Linked DNA regions of Homo sapiens: all the other regions are linked to region 2. The links are contacts of gene promoters, found by promoter capture Hi-C in blood cells and fetal thymus (Javierre and others, 2016). All regions are on one chromosome and are shown on one strand. The core of a region is centred on a gene start or on the middle of the fragment in contact, and the rest is flanking DNA. Distances in the headings are between cores, read along the strand shown.

What was found. Contacts are between HindIII fragments. The CHiCAGO score rates a contact against its expected background, and 5 or more counts as called.
Region 1: a fragment that was not itself captured here is called in contact with the fragment with the promoter of TAS2R40 in region 2 in 4 of 17 cell types (naive CD8 T cells, naive CD4 T cells, fetal thymus and 1 more); the score reaches 7.6 in naive CD8 T cells.
Region 3: a fragment that was not itself captured here is called in contact with the fragment with the promoter of TAS2R40 in region 2 in 1 of 17 cell types (total B cells); the score reaches 6.3 in total B cells.
Region 4: a contact is called between a fragment that was not itself captured here and the fragment with the promoter of TAS2R40 in region 2, in 1 of 17 cell types (naive CD4 T cells). The highest score is 5.8, in naive CD4 T cells.
Region 5: a contact is called between a fragment that was not itself captured here and the fragment with the promoter of TAS2R40 in region 2, in 2 of 17 cell types (total B cells and naive B cells). The highest score is 10.9, in total B cells.

The regions. Positions count from the first base shown.
Region 1 is chr7:142,292,763-142,295,690 of GRCh38, forward strand. No RefSeq gene overlaps it. Among named protein-coding and RNA genes, the nearest start is that of PRSS58, 36 kb to the left of the region's middle. The HindIII fragment of the contact is 5,747 bases long and covers 1-2,928 here.
Region 2 is chr7:143,220,387-143,223,316 of GRCh38, forward strand. TAS2R40 (taste 2 receptor member 40) reads left to right here and starts at 1,651. Exons shown (of 1, transcript NM_176882.2): 1 at 1,651-2,693. The coding sequence starts at 1,693. The coding sequence ends at 2,664. The HindIII fragment of the contact is 3,585 bases long and covers 1-2,154 here.
Region 3 is chr7:142,646,589-142,649,656 of GRCh38, forward strand. It overlaps TRB. Among named protein-coding and RNA genes, the nearest start is that of PRSS1, 100 kb to the right of the region's middle. The HindIII fragment of the contact is 4,372 bases long and covers 1-3,068 here.
Region 4 is chr7:142,399,962-142,402,690 of GRCh38, forward strand. It overlaps TRB and TRBV10-1. Among named protein-coding and RNA genes, the nearest start is that of MIR11400, 73 kb to the right of the region's middle. The HindIII fragment of the contact is 5,689 bases long and covers 1-2,729 here.
Region 5 is chr7:142,629,887-142,632,837 of GRCh38, forward strand. It overlaps TRB. Among named protein-coding and RNA genes, the nearest start is that of PRSS1, 120 kb to the right of the region's middle. RefSeq lists an enhancer at 2,667-2,951. The HindIII fragment of the contact is 408 bases long and covers 1,410-1,817 here.

The sequences.
Region 1 (2,928 bases), core at 319-2,818, 930 kb before region 2:
GTGGATTACGTGCATCAACTCATTCAGTCTTCACAAGCAGCATCGTAAGTGTTAAACTACAAATTTCACCATTTAAGAGATGTGGAGAAAGAGGCTAAAAGAAGTCAAGTGAGTATATCAAAGTTTCATAGCTGTTAAGTGGCCAATCTATGGTTAAAACTTAAGCAGCCTCACTTCAGGGTTCATGCCCTCAACAGTGATGCCGTGAATATAATAAGAGAGAACAGGGCTGGGCGCAGTGGCTCAAGCCTATAATCCCAGCACTTTGGGAGGCCGAGGTGGGCAGATCACGAGGTCAGGAGATCAAGACCATCCTGGCCAACATGGTGAAACCCCGTCTCTACTAAAATACAAAAAAAAATAGCCAGGCATGGTGGCGGGCACCTGTAGTCCCAGCTAATCAGAAGGCTGAGGCAGCAGAATCGCTTGAACCTGGGGAGTGGAGGTTGCAGTGAGCCGAGATCACACCAACCAACTTTATCGATATTCCAAGACCTCTGGGAAACAGCAAGAGTATGATAGGAGACATCCAGACATTCATCAGGAGGATTCTTCATTTTTCAAGTATGGCAAATATTGTTGCTGAAGTTATTCATAAACATGCCTTCAGAGGGAAGTATGGGATTTACAGACCTCATCTGGTTAAGGACTACTCTTGACTTTCTTGATTTAATAGAGTTTTACTGTGATGACACAAAGCACTGTTAAACAGAGCTGCGTTACTCGAAGAATGAAATACTTTCAATACAACCAATGGATAAATTCTTCTCTCACTGTGCACATTACCTCTCTTGGCCTTTTTATAATCTAATTTCTTATCATTCATAATCAGTCCCTCAAATACTGACTCTCACCTGAGCTCTTCTCAGATCCAACTTCTACTGAACATGTCTGCTCCCATACCTAGGGTCAGCTAGTCTAGCGCTGAATTCATCATAGCTTTCTCTTTCTATATTTTCTGTCAGTGCAATGAAGCTACACACATATGGTTAGCCAAACTTGAAACACAGAAGTCACCCTTAACTTTTTTTTTTTTTTGACTGAGTTTCACTCTTATCACCCAGGCTGGAGTGCAAATGATGCGATCTCGGCCCACTGCAACCTCCTCCTCCTGGGTTCAAGCGATTCTCCTGCCTTAGCCTCCCAAGTAACTGGGATTACAGGCGTGTGCCACCATGCCGGGTTATTTTTGTATTTTTAGTAGAGATGGGATTTTGCCATGTTGGCCAGGCTGGTCTCGAACTCCTGACCTCAGGTGATCCACCTGCCTTGGGCTTCCAAAGTGCTGGGATTATAGGCCTAAGCTACCACACCTGGCCCACCCTTAACTTCTTTATCCACCTTGCTTACTACCTGTATTCAAAGTCTTGACGATTTTACCTGTCTTAAAGATCCTTGACTTTTCTTTGAAGATCCTTGATTTTCCTTTCAAGTCAACCACCTATGACTTGGTTCAGTATCACATTTTCTCTCCTGAATTATTGAAATCGTGCTAAAACCACTTCCTTGTTTGTGGCTTTATTCTCCTTCAACTCACTCTCCACATCAGAGTAATCTTTCTAAAATGCACATGGATCATTACATTTTCCGCTTAAAATGCTTTGGTGGCTCCACATTGACATCAGGATAAGTTTAAATTCCAGCACCAAAGTTCATGTTCTTGGACACTGTATGCTGTTTTAAACCTCTGTGCCTTCCCACACACCTTACCTGGTTAACTCCCATCATTCTTCAACTCTAATCGTGGAGAACTCTGAACTCCACCTGCATTCTCCAACTAAAGTCAGGCCTTCCTGAACTTTCTAGGCAGCTTTACTTTCATTACATTTACTTCCAGTCACATATTACTTGTATAAATATCTGCTTAATGTCTATTTTTTCCAGGTTGTTTAAAATTCCTGAGGGCATAAATGATGTCTGATTTGCTCACTATTACACCTCAAAGCCGGTATGTACGTGGCACATAGTAATTGCTCAGTGAATAACTGCTGAATGAATGAATGAGGTTACTTTCCCTCTTTGCTGGTGAACTTCTAGTCATCCATTAAATTTACCTGAAGTATCATCTCTATCTATAATTAATCTCTGACATTAACCTATGACCTCCCCTAACTCTACTGCCATAATGCCCCAATTGGTTAGATGCTAATCCGTTCTATTTCTTATCGGTGCCATTTTGAAACCCTGTGCATGTTGCTATTATAACTTTTGAATTTTGTTGCAGGCTTTGATTTCCTTTTCTCTTCAACTAGAATACGAGCTTCTGAAGAAAATATTGTATGTTAAAATTTCCAGTTTATGACACTGTCTCTGGCATAGAGTAGATGCTTAAGTTCTTCTGTTCTTCTTTGCCCCATTGGGCACTTAAGCCTTGTCCAAAACATCTTCACCAACAGTCATCCAGCCTCTATTCTGGACAGGAAACCACAGGACCTTCTGGAAACTTCTTCCTTCTGTCGAGCTGGAAAATCGTCTTGTTAGAGCTTTGACTCTTTTTCTCTCTGTCCTATAGCTTGGGGACATAGGATCAGGAGAGAGATAGTAAGAAGATAAGTAGACAACAAAGCGAAAAGAAGATTGTAGGTTCTAAAATAGTTAAAGATGAGTCAGATAAGTGAAAACTCCAGCCCAGCAAATATACATTTTTCTCTTTAGGTAGCAGTTACAAATTGTGAAAGGAAATCAAAAAAGTGTCTCCCTGTTACTGGGAAATAGCATGCCAGGTAGTAGTAGTCAAAGCTAATGCTGGCTTCTTTGTAGACAATTCAGCAGAAATAGTTTCTTAGAAAAAAAATACTTGGAACAGGATTAGATAGATTGCCCTAAGATCTGGCTTAGAGTACTCTCCTTCAAAAAACCTTCTCCAATTGCATCAATCCCCAACTGATAATTGGTTTTCTATATAGTCTATGAATGCTGATGAGAATA
Region 2 (2,930 bases), core at 401-2,900:
TTAAAAAATATAATGGACCAAGGCCCAAAATATAATGGACCAAGGTGTGAAGGATGGTAGCTCACACCTATAGTCCCAGTATTTTCGGAGGCTGAGATGGGAGGATTGCTTGAGCCCAAGAATTCAAGATCAGCCTAGCCAACATGGCGAAACTCTGTCTCTACAAAAAATACAAAACTTAGCCAGGTGTGTTGGCATGCATCTGTAGTCCCAGCTACTCAGGTGGCTGAAGTGTGGGGATCACCTGAGCTATGGAGGTCAAGGCTGCAGTGAGCCATGATTACACCACTGCACTCCAGCCTGGGTGATAGAGTGAGACCCAGTCTCAAAAAGAAAAATAATCAAATAAAAATAACAGGGTAAGCACACTGGAAAATGATAACTGGCACTCAGCTTCTGTGTCAAGAAGACACTAGGAATTAGTATTGTCAACAAACTGAAAAGTATATACCTTGTTTAAAATGGGCAGCCATTACTCAGCTTCAGCCAGTTCACTATGAAGACCCAATACTGCCAAATCTTCTAATTTTTCAAGAGAAGATAGATTTTTTGTGCATGCATATAAGTAATCTCCTAAGTTTAAATGTTTGCCAATAGAACCCCTCAAAAAGAAAAGTTACACACTGGTGGATTAATGCTGTACAGCATTAACCAATGCAAGGTAAAATGACTACAGGCCAAATCTGACCCAAGGCTCATTGGTTTCCAGCTAAGATTTTGGATCTCAATCCTGACTATGAGCAACAAGACCTTTCGGCTTTTTTAAAAGATAGCATGCCTGAGCCCTAGTCCAGTTCTGATTTCCTAGATTTGGACGAGTCCTGGGCATCTACATATTCTTGTAAAGTGCCAGAGTTCATTCTGGTTCACAGCCAGGGTTAAAAAGTAGGAAATTAAATTTCAAGTCATAGTACCTTATCACATTTCCAAACTTCAACACCATGTCCAGAACACTGAATTCTCCCCAGGCTCATTCTACCTGATTCTGAGCTCAAATAGTCATGTGGGATCTCAGTAAGCTGAAATTGATGACACATACACAAACAATAAAAACTGGGACTATGGAGACTTCCTTCTCTCCAACTCGAATAGCATCCAATTTTGGCTTTTCTATATACTATTCGAGGACATTATAATAGCAGGCCTTTTTGGAAGAAACTCAATTCTAAGTAAAAGATGTTCATATATGAGCTTATGGGAATTTCTTATTCACAAACATGGTAACTATCAAAATAAAACTCTCTCCCAAAATAAGAGAGACAAGAAAAGAAGTGGGGAAAACAGATTTTAAAAGCTGTATGAGCTTTTACAAATAATTTAGCAGGTAACAGAGATCTTGTGAGACAAGTAAAAAGGCCTTGTATTCATTGCTTATCAGGTAAATGTGGACTTAAAGTAAATAAGGTAAGAAGGTGTTGAGCTAGAAACATGTCTCAAATTATTTCCAGTGAGCTTCTGAAAGCCCAAGACAAATGTATCTTTATGAAAAATTGAGACAGACCCAGTAACCAGATCCTCTCATTATTTGCATGTGAAGCCTCTAACTTGTAGTCATGTGATAAACAAATGGAGAAAAATTGGAAATAACCATTAATGAGGGCGGCAGAAATTATAACATTGAGCAAGGGTCAGAAGATTGCAGAGCAGTTACCCATTCTTGGCGCAGAAACCTGAAAGTCAGGATCAAAGAGAATGGCAACGGTGAACACAGATGCCACAGATAAAGACATATCCAAGTTCAAGGTCACCTTCACTTTGGTGGTCTCCGGAATAGAGTGCATCACTGGCATCCTTGGGAGTGGCTTCATCACGGCCATCTATGGGGCTGAGTGGGCCAGGGGCAAAACACTCCCCACTGGTGACCGCATTATGTTGATGCTGAGCTTTTCCAGGCTCTTGCTACAGATTTGGATGATGCTGGAGAACATTTTCAGTCTGCTATTCCGAATTGTTTATAACCAAAACTCAGTGTATATCCTCTTCAAAGTCATCACTGTCTTTCTGAACCATTCCAATCTCTGGTTTGCTGCCTGGCTCAAAGTCTTCTATTGTCTTAGAATTGCAAACTTCAATCATCCTTTGTTCTTCCTGATGAAGAGGAAAATCATAGTGCTGATGCCTTGGCTTCTCAGGCTGTCAGTGTTGGTTTCCTTAAGCTTCAGCTTTCCTCTCTCGAGAGATGTCTTCAATGTGTATGTGAATAGCTCCATTCCTATCCCCTCCTCCAACTCCACGGAGAAGAAGTACTTCTCTGAGACCAATATGGTCAACCTGGTATTTTTCTATAACATGGGGATCTTCGTTCCTCTGATCATGTTCATCCTGGCAGCCACCCTGCTGATCCTCTCTCTCAAGAGACACACCCTACACATGGGAAGCAATGCCACAGGGTCCAGGGACCCCAGCATGAAGGCTCACATAGGGGCCATCAAAGCCACCAGCTACTTTCTCATCCTCTACATTTTCAATGCAATTGCTCTATTTCTTTCCACGTCCAACATCTTTGACACTTACAGTTCCTGGAATATTTTGTGCAAGATCATCATGGCTGCCTACCCTGCCGGCCACTCAGTACAACTGATCTTGGGCAACCCTGGGCTGAGAAGAGCCTGGAAGCGGTTTCAGCACCAAGTTCCTCTTTACCTAAAAGGGCAGACTCTGTGACTGGAACTCACGGAGTTCTGCGGGACCTGGTCCAACCACTTCTGCCTTTGCCTCAGGTAGAACTCTCTCCTCACCCGTCTCTTCTCTCCCAAACCTGCTCTGACACTTCTCAGATAACGTGATCCTTTTATAAATATGAAGCTGAATTTTTAACTTGAGATTCTAAACAGAAGTAACTAAGAAACCTGAAGATGGACTTTGAAAGCTCCTTGAACTATGTTCATTCATATCCTGCCCTGAGATCTCTCCACTTTCTTCTCCTCCTG
Region 3 (3,068 bases), core at 416-2,915, 570 kb before region 2:
CAGTGTAATTTAACACAAGGATAAAGGGTGTTTAGCAGAAGTCAAGAGGTGATAGAAGTTCTGAAAAGGCACCACTAGGGCTGGGCTCTAGAATGGCTATCTCTCCAGCGCTGATTTTTATTCAATTTTGGCTGCTGAATGCTTTTCTCTCCCTGTACACCATCTCTTTTTCTCCAGGCCTCGTGGTGAGAATGAGATGGTCACTAAAGATTACAAATTCAGTTGCCATCATTTCCCTACACTGATAAATACCAGGCTGGCTCTTTCTAAGCCTCAATTCAAAATCCCAAGAGAAAAAAACAGATCAGTCATGATCCAGCCATTAACCTTCTCACAGAGCACTCAGCAGTAGGCATGTATGTATATATTTAAAATCACATAAATATTACTTTTCCACTCAGCTCAAGAAAGGGAAGTGCTCCGTTTTTCTGTAAGTACATTTGGTCTTGTTGCTTCTACATGATAGAGAGTACTCATACCCATTTCTTCAGAAATACATAGCCAGATTTTCTCCAGTTTTCTGCCAGAATTGAAAATTCTTGTACAAATACCTTCATAGACTTGTATGATTGCTTTATAGGATTATATACCCAGAGCAAGTCATGATTGCTGAGACATGGAATTCTATGCATATTTTATCTATCTAAATACCACCACGGGTTCTTCAGGATCACTGTATACATCTGCAATCCCACATAAAAGTGAATAGGGTGTTTTCCTACATCCTAATATCTCCTTTAATCCTTATCCAGTGATCTAGATTGTTCTCAGTCTAGCAATGTAAAGAGATTCCAATCTCTGTCTCTCTTTCTCTCCACCCCCCACCCCTGCAACCCTCTCACCTACTGCCAGAATATCATCAGTGTTTACCATAAAGATACAGGTGACAATTTTTTAAAACTAAATAAAACCAATAATTTAAAGGAACTGAGAGATTACGTTATACTACTATAATAATAACTGGCAGCAATCTAGAAGGCTGAATAATGTTCTCTCCCTCCTTTTCTTTCCTTTGCAATTTTCTAATTACTAATGAGTTTGAGCACTTCTTCATGTGATAGTGGTCCTGGATTTCTGTTCTCAAAATGGCCTATCCATATCCGCTGGCAAATTCTCTATTGACAGTTCTATATTTTCCTCAATGATTTGTAGGGGGTCCTGAGATATACAAGATATTAGTCTCCTTTCTGAAACTTTAGGCACTGGAAATACCACCACCCAATATGGCACCACCTCTGTCCCAGACTTCAAAGAATCAGTAGATGTGGGAGGAACCAGGTGATCTCTTACCTTAGCAGGTGCATGCGTGTTATCTCCATTATGTGAATGAGACTTCTATCTTTCACTTCCACTCTGCTGAGTGCTCAACTTGCTGTCTCTTCCATTATTACTCATGTCTTTAAGCAGCATAGAAAAGTTACCAGCCATGGCTGTCCCCAAACTACTATCACCCACTGACAACCCTTTCCATCCAGAACTGCTGAAAAAATGCTTCACTCCATTTAGCTGTGCTTTTTTACAATATGGGGCAAATTTGATTCAAATTAATTCTTATTGCTCTTTTCTAAGTGAATTATGCTGCCTGGTTATAGCAAAGGACAGAAAAACTTCACACATCTTTTTGGAAGACTTAATACTTGCCCACACATTATCTCTTTTAGGGCCAAATTCCATCCACTGCAAACACCTATCTCCTTGAGCTCTTGATATGACAGCTGATCCATTTTGATTTCACAAATGCTTACAGAGCAACTCCCATTCACTGAGACATAAAGGCATTCAGAAACTTTCAGCTACACTACATGGAATTTTGGTCTCTGGGGAAAGGGAGAAGAGTAAAAAGAACCATCAAAATGTATTTCAAATAATGTGTATAAGGATGACAAAATATAGATTACTTTCATGAAAAACATTAGAACATTATATTGTCTTTGGGAGTGATTTATCAGTGGATAAATTAAAACAAATTCCTGAGGAAGTTTGGGAAAAAAATAAATTTAGGAAAACAAATTTTAAATGATTTCCTGAAAACCATCAGGGTTTACCATAAAGTTAACAATTGAAAAAAATCAAATAATTTAATAGTGAATGAGAATATGAATACAGAAAATTCATATGAATATGGAATGAAATATTAGTAAAAATGTGTTTGAGAACACTTACAAATGAATTTTGTTGTCCAATTTGATTAAGAGTCTAGTCAAAGTGTTACTCTTTTAAACTACTTGTAATAGTGTCAGTTTGACAATCTGGAACAAAAACCTTTAAAATGCTTATTTTTGGGAATTTGGCTCTAAATCAAAATAGATAGTTGTTACTGTACTTGTTCTATTGCCTTAAGCCACTATAAAACTTGACAAAAATTGTAAGACAACTATGTTCAGACATCAGACAACAGGCAGTACACGTCGCCATCTCTGGGAAAGAGGAAACCTAGAAGGGGAATTTCGCTATTGTCCTAAGACTCTGCCTTGGTATGACTTCTGGGCTGCACCACAAGTATATGAAGCCCAAGCAGTGGGCAGTGGTCTACCCAGCATAGGGAGGCAGAGATTGAGTTCAGAAGTATGGACATGGCTGATAGTGATAGGGATAAGCTACTGCAGAGAAGGAAGCTATGCAGAATAAGACCTCCAAATATTTTATGAGGTCCCCTTAAGTCTTTGGTCAAAAACTAAGCAGCAAATGCATGGGAAACGCCTCCATAAGACCTGGCAGAGAACAGTTGCTGGGTAGTTGTGAGAGGAATAGAGATTCTGACAGTCATACGAGCATGGGAGACATGAATCCTGACTGGGCAGAGCTGAGAGGCCTTGCTGAAACCCCTGGGAATGCAGCTGGCACCACATAAGGGTCACATCTCAAGAGAAGGACTACCAACGTCCTAGAGTAAACCACTCCAGAACTGCCCTAACAAAGTTCAGCAAGTCTCAAAAGGATGTCGCTGATCTTCCAATAAGTTCACTGCCTTTTGAAGAAAAATATCTCAGCACTCTCTAAATAAAGGCAAATATAAACATATACATATATATAATCTGTAGATATATAAGTCTGTAGAGAGATATGTA
Region 4 (2,729 bases), core at 159-2,658, 820 kb before region 2:
GTCTGCTGTGGGCAGGTGAGGGCTGGTCACAGGAGGGCCTCCTTCCCTGGAATTCCCAAGGCCTCAGTGCAGGCTTTTCTGTTGGGATGACAGCATCAGCATCTGTTGTTCTCTATTACAGGACACAGGGATGCTGAAATCACCCAGAGCCCAAGACACAAGATCACAGAGACAGGAAGGCAGGTGACCTTGGCGTGTCACCAGACTTGGAACCACAACAATATGTTCTGGTATCGACAAGACCTGGGACATGGGCTGAGGCTGATCCATTACTCATATGGTGTTCACGACACTAACAAAGGAGAAGTCTCAGATGGCTACAGTGTCTCTAGATCAAACACAGAGGACCTCCCCCTCACTCTGGAGTCTGCTGCCTCCTCCCAGACATCTGTATATTTCTGCGCCAGCAGTGAGTCCACAGTGCTGCACAGCTGCCTCCTCTCTGCACATAAAGGGCAGTTAGAATGACTGAGGTTGCCTGTGCTCCCAAGTCCCAGCCTTCACAGGAGTCGGAGAGCCCTGGCTAGCCTGGGGGCCATAGAGCAGGGGCCATATAAACCTTGATGTTGAGGTCCATTCCTACCCCAGTCTCAGACCAACTGGAGGTCACCCCAACACCCTTAGCTTCTGCAGTTCCCTCTTTCCTTTTGTAAAATGGAAAAGGCATCTTTAGTCGAGATTCCTAATTTCGTTGAAAATTTGAAACCCACCATATTCTTCTCTACCCTAAGGGCTGGGTGACTTTTCCACATACCCTTTCCCCTACCCTCTACTGCCTTTCAACTCCCAATCATAAATCTTTGCCCATGTGGTCTCTGCTCCTGGGGGCCCTTTATTCTAAGGGCAATAGACCCACGAGGTCCTATATCATTAGCCATTTACGTACCTCTTCATCATCATTTTGCACCATGTTTTCCCTGGCTCTCTGCTCCAGCCACACTCCCTTACATGCAGTTATTTCTTCATATGTGTCTGTTGTTTTCCACCCTGGGGATTGTTTATATAAATTCTTTCTTCTGCACTGAGCATACATACCACCCACTTAGTCCTACATCTCTACTTCATTTCTTAAATTAAAGTGTATTTCAGGCACACTTGCTCTTAATTGTAAAAAGCAAAAAAGAAAGTTTACTAGAAAAATTTAAGAAAAGCATTTTATGCATTCAGTTGAGGGATGACATTTTTAGAGGAGACAAAAAGCCACAAGCCAAAAGAACAACATTCATAACGCTAGTTGCATTAAATTGTTTCAAGCCAAAACACACCATAAAAAATAAAGTTAAGCTACAGCCTGGGAAAGGCATGAGGAATGCATACAAATGATGAAAAATCAGTGTGACAGAGAACATTCAGTGTAACAGAGAACATTCAGAACATCACTGAATACCTGTAGCTCCTCCATGGTTTCTGGTCTCCCTTGCAGTTGGAGGGGTGGGAACATGTCACCAGGTTCTGAATAGTGGGATAAAATGATGTCAGCTCATTTCAAGCCTGGCCCTTAAAAATATTCTGTGGCACCATGTTGAGGGTCTCTAAATGTACTCCCATGTTTAGAGTGTTGGTATATGGCATAGAGTTGTACTCATGGCTAAGATTTATTAAAGTGTCATAGTAAATACTCTGCAGCAGAACATGTGGAGAAAACACACAGGCAGAATCTGGAGGAATTCACAGGCAGGCTTCCTTATGCTCTCTTCCTCTCAGGAGGGGTCACACAGAGCTCTCTCTCCTCCCAGCAGCAAAAATGCATTAACACACGTGCAGTGTATCTGCCAAGGGAGCCCATTACAGACTTAGCACCCAAGAGGTTTTAGTAGAAGCTGGTCACACAGGCACCTACTTTTTAGCATGAACCAAAAGTCTAGATCCCAAAAGAAAATCTGATGTTCAGCATAATATTATTTGCAACACCAGCCTAGGAACGATGAGCCACCCCTGTCAGTCAGGAGAAACTTTGCATCAGTTCAGGGCACCGTTCACCAGCCAAGCTCCCAGATGTCTGCCAGAGTCCAATCTTGCAAGCAGGACTTTCTAAGCACCGCAGTCTCCAGCCTCCTGTCAACTCTTGTGCACAGACACTCTTCAACTCTCTTTTGCCATGTCCTGAACTCGGGAGCTACACGGTACAGATTGCCTAATGATAATATGGAAGCAGCCTGGCTCACTGAGTCAGAATTTGGTGGACAATCACAGAAGAAAGCTGCTCATGCCACACTGGGCTTTGTGGTCATGGGAAGTAAGACTTCATAGAGCTATGCCAGTGAGATTTTAGGATTTGTTTTGTTTGTTTTGTTTTCTGTAGCACAGCTGTTCTTGTCTAAGAGAATTAGTATCTAGAATGAGTAAAATATTCTTATTACTTAGTATTAAGAAGACAGCTCAATAAAAATAGCAATACTGAGGCTGAGTAGGCAATTCACACAAGAGTGAACATAAGTTACCACTAAACATGAGAATAACTTCGCAACCTTACTTACAATCAGAATATTGCAACCTGAAACAGTAAGTTATGATTTCAAAATTACTAGATTGGATACTTTTCCAAGGAATGACAGTCCTACATTTGAGTAGACATATGGGCTGGTGAAAATTGTTTGTATATTTATTACAAAAGATAATTACAACTACATCAGAAAACCCACTGTGGGATATATTGTGACAAACCACATTTCTGGAAAATTTATCAATGTATTTAAATCACTTGGGTTCCTTTCATTGTCTTTAAGTTC
Region 5 (2,951 bases), core at 364-2,863, 590 kb before region 2:
GTAGCCTTTTACTCTGTTAGCGTTTTCAGCCTGGAGAACAGAGCTAGTAAAATACTTATAAAATATTCCACTGCTTCACTAACGGCATGGAAAAGACAAGAGCTTTTAAGGCTCTGGCATGAAACAGGGAGACAGTGGTTACATTCCTATTTCACGCAGTCACTATTTCCGTCTACGTTAAGCTGAGGAGTGTAGTGTTTCGGTGACATTTAGCATGGAACGCTGCTGGGTTCAGACCTGACATTCCCAAACCAGCTGACTGTCAAGGACACAGCCTACTGCCTACCTATATTACCTTAGGAAACGAGACAACAGCATTGAACAGCATTCAGTCCATATTTGTGTTCTGTCTTCCTTGGACAAGTACCAACAAAATAAAATCCTATCACATTTCCTGTAAATTTTGAATGACATAAATTTTTGATTAGCAATTCTTTTTGAAGTGTTGAACTTTTTGTTCTGATTTTATATTCTACTCTCTGTGCTTTGTTGTATTTAAAATCAAGTTCACCTTTCAGAGGCAGTGATGGGTGAGGTAAGAGACAGACTCTTACATCCTCCTCCCCAACACACACACACACACACACATACACACACACACACACACACACACGGAGGCACTGTTTTTCCCAGTAATGGAGAAGCCATGGGAAGAATTTCAGAGGTTTCAAGGGAGCTAGGGTCGTCTAATTCCTCTATATCCTTGGATATCCCCATTCTTAATGTCAAAAATAATCTCTCGAACTGGTTTCCCAGAGTCTCAACCCATTTGCTATAGTACATGCACCATCTCAGGTGTCCAAAGATGAATATTTGATAAGCTACTTCTCAACTTCATACCTCTGCTGCTGTTTTTCCATTCTGGAATGTGGAAAGCAGTGTGACTCCTATTAACTGACCAGTAGTCAATTTTAACTACCCATAAATATGTGAGTGTCTTTTATCTGTAATCTCCTATCTGGTGCCATTTTTGAAAACCAGTTAAGACTCTTTTATCCTAAAAAATGAACTATGTCTAATTTCTTGAAAGTAATTATTGATGAAATACTCCCTGGAGAGTCTGAAGCCCCTGATATTGCATATTTAATTGTTATCCTCCTTTTAATAAAAGGTATAGGAAGAAATTTTAAATATTATTCCTAAATACCTTACATCAAGATGAGCTAGAGTTAATTAAGTGGGACGAGGGATAATGAATTCAAGGGCATTTAAGAAAGATTAAAGAACCAGTGCAAAATGTTTTAATCAGGAAAGAAATTAGTGTGTTTAATGACAGGAAAGAAGTCAGCAGAGTGACAGGAGCAGGGGGAGGAGGTGGTTGAGTACAGGGCAAAATTGAAGAAGGCAGGAAGGCACCAGACCACTCAGAACCTTACTGGTCAAGGTAAATGATACAGAATCCAACATAAAGCTTAATAGGAGACACTGAGGTTTTCAACATTTGACTTCTTTAGTAATCAGATTCGTGGCTGTGTGTGTATCTGTGTATTTAATCACCCTGGTCACAAAGTGAAGAAATAATGGACCATGCAGGGAAGGCAAAATGTTACCTCTACCCTCTTGCAGTTTTTCGGCTGGTCCTGAGAATGGAAGATTAACAGGAAGGAAAGCATACACATGTATTTAATACAAGTTTTACATCACATGAAAGCCCCCATAATTAAAGGAAGAACTGAATGTGCAGTTAGAGTTGAACATTCATATATTGAATTGGGCAAAGGGTCATACATTGTGGAAAGGTGAAAAAGTAAAGGGGCTTAGGCTAGGGTTGCTGGTTGAATGGCAAAGTGACTAGGAAGGTGAGGATTAGTTTAACAAGCTTTTTTTGTTACAGATTCCTTGGCCTCAACATCATCCCATTCTATCTTGGATGTTAAGAATATTCTTTTTTCCTGGTATAGATAAGACATCTTTTATATGGGAAGCTTATTCCATTTTTCAAGAAGAAAAGGGGAAGGGTCAGAGTACTCCTCTTATACTTGCTATTGTCTTTAATGCCTCTAGCTCAAAATATTCCTTATGCCAAAGTGGCATATTTTGGGCAGAGGGTTGGGAGGCTTATGCTGCCACCCTCCAGCAGTGTGAACAGAGTTGATGCGGAGGAAAAACTTAGCTCAGGCAAGCAGTAGTTTAGCTCAGATAATGATGATGGTGTTAGAAATATGGGGAAAATGAGACATTTAAAAGGAAGTAAATCAAAGGACTTGGCAATTGATTAGACATGAGCAGCAATATGCAGGGGGTGGTGGGTGGTGATTAAGAGAGACTGCTACACACAGACAAATAAGAAGGACCAAGTGGGAAGAAGATCAAGATTTACTTTGAGATTGGGAGTGCCTTAGGGACAGTAATCTAACCAGGAATATGCAGAGAGCAGTTGGATGTACAAGTCATGGACTCAGAAAATGGATCTGGATAAGAAGCACACCTTTGGGACATTTAGCATCACTGGAAGAATGAAAGTGCCTCCAATCCCTTGATATACAGTTTACAATGAAAAGATCAGAGAGCATAGGATAGCGGTTTAGGGAGCACACCTGCCTTGGGGGACTATAAAAGGTTGAGGGAGGCAAAATGCACTGATAAACCACCATCGGCATTAGACTAATGGCTGAATAATTGTGTAAGTAATTGCTAGTAACAATGCTGTGGAGTATGTGGCAGGTAGCACATCAAGTGCTGCTTTTTTCTTAATTTCGCTCTGATACCTGGAATGCCTTTTTGCTGCCTCGCTGCCGGGCGGGCCACTCCCGACTCAGGCAGGCCGAGGCAGAGCTCCGCGGGCATTGGATGAATTCGCTCCTTTGACCACTAGAGGGTGATGTGGATCTTTCTATAAAATATCTGCCGCTCATCAAGTGGGGACTCACAGCTTCACCGGATATTTCAGATGAGATGTTTAGGTACTGACTGACCAAAAAAATTGCAGATATCCTGGGAGGCCAATTGGT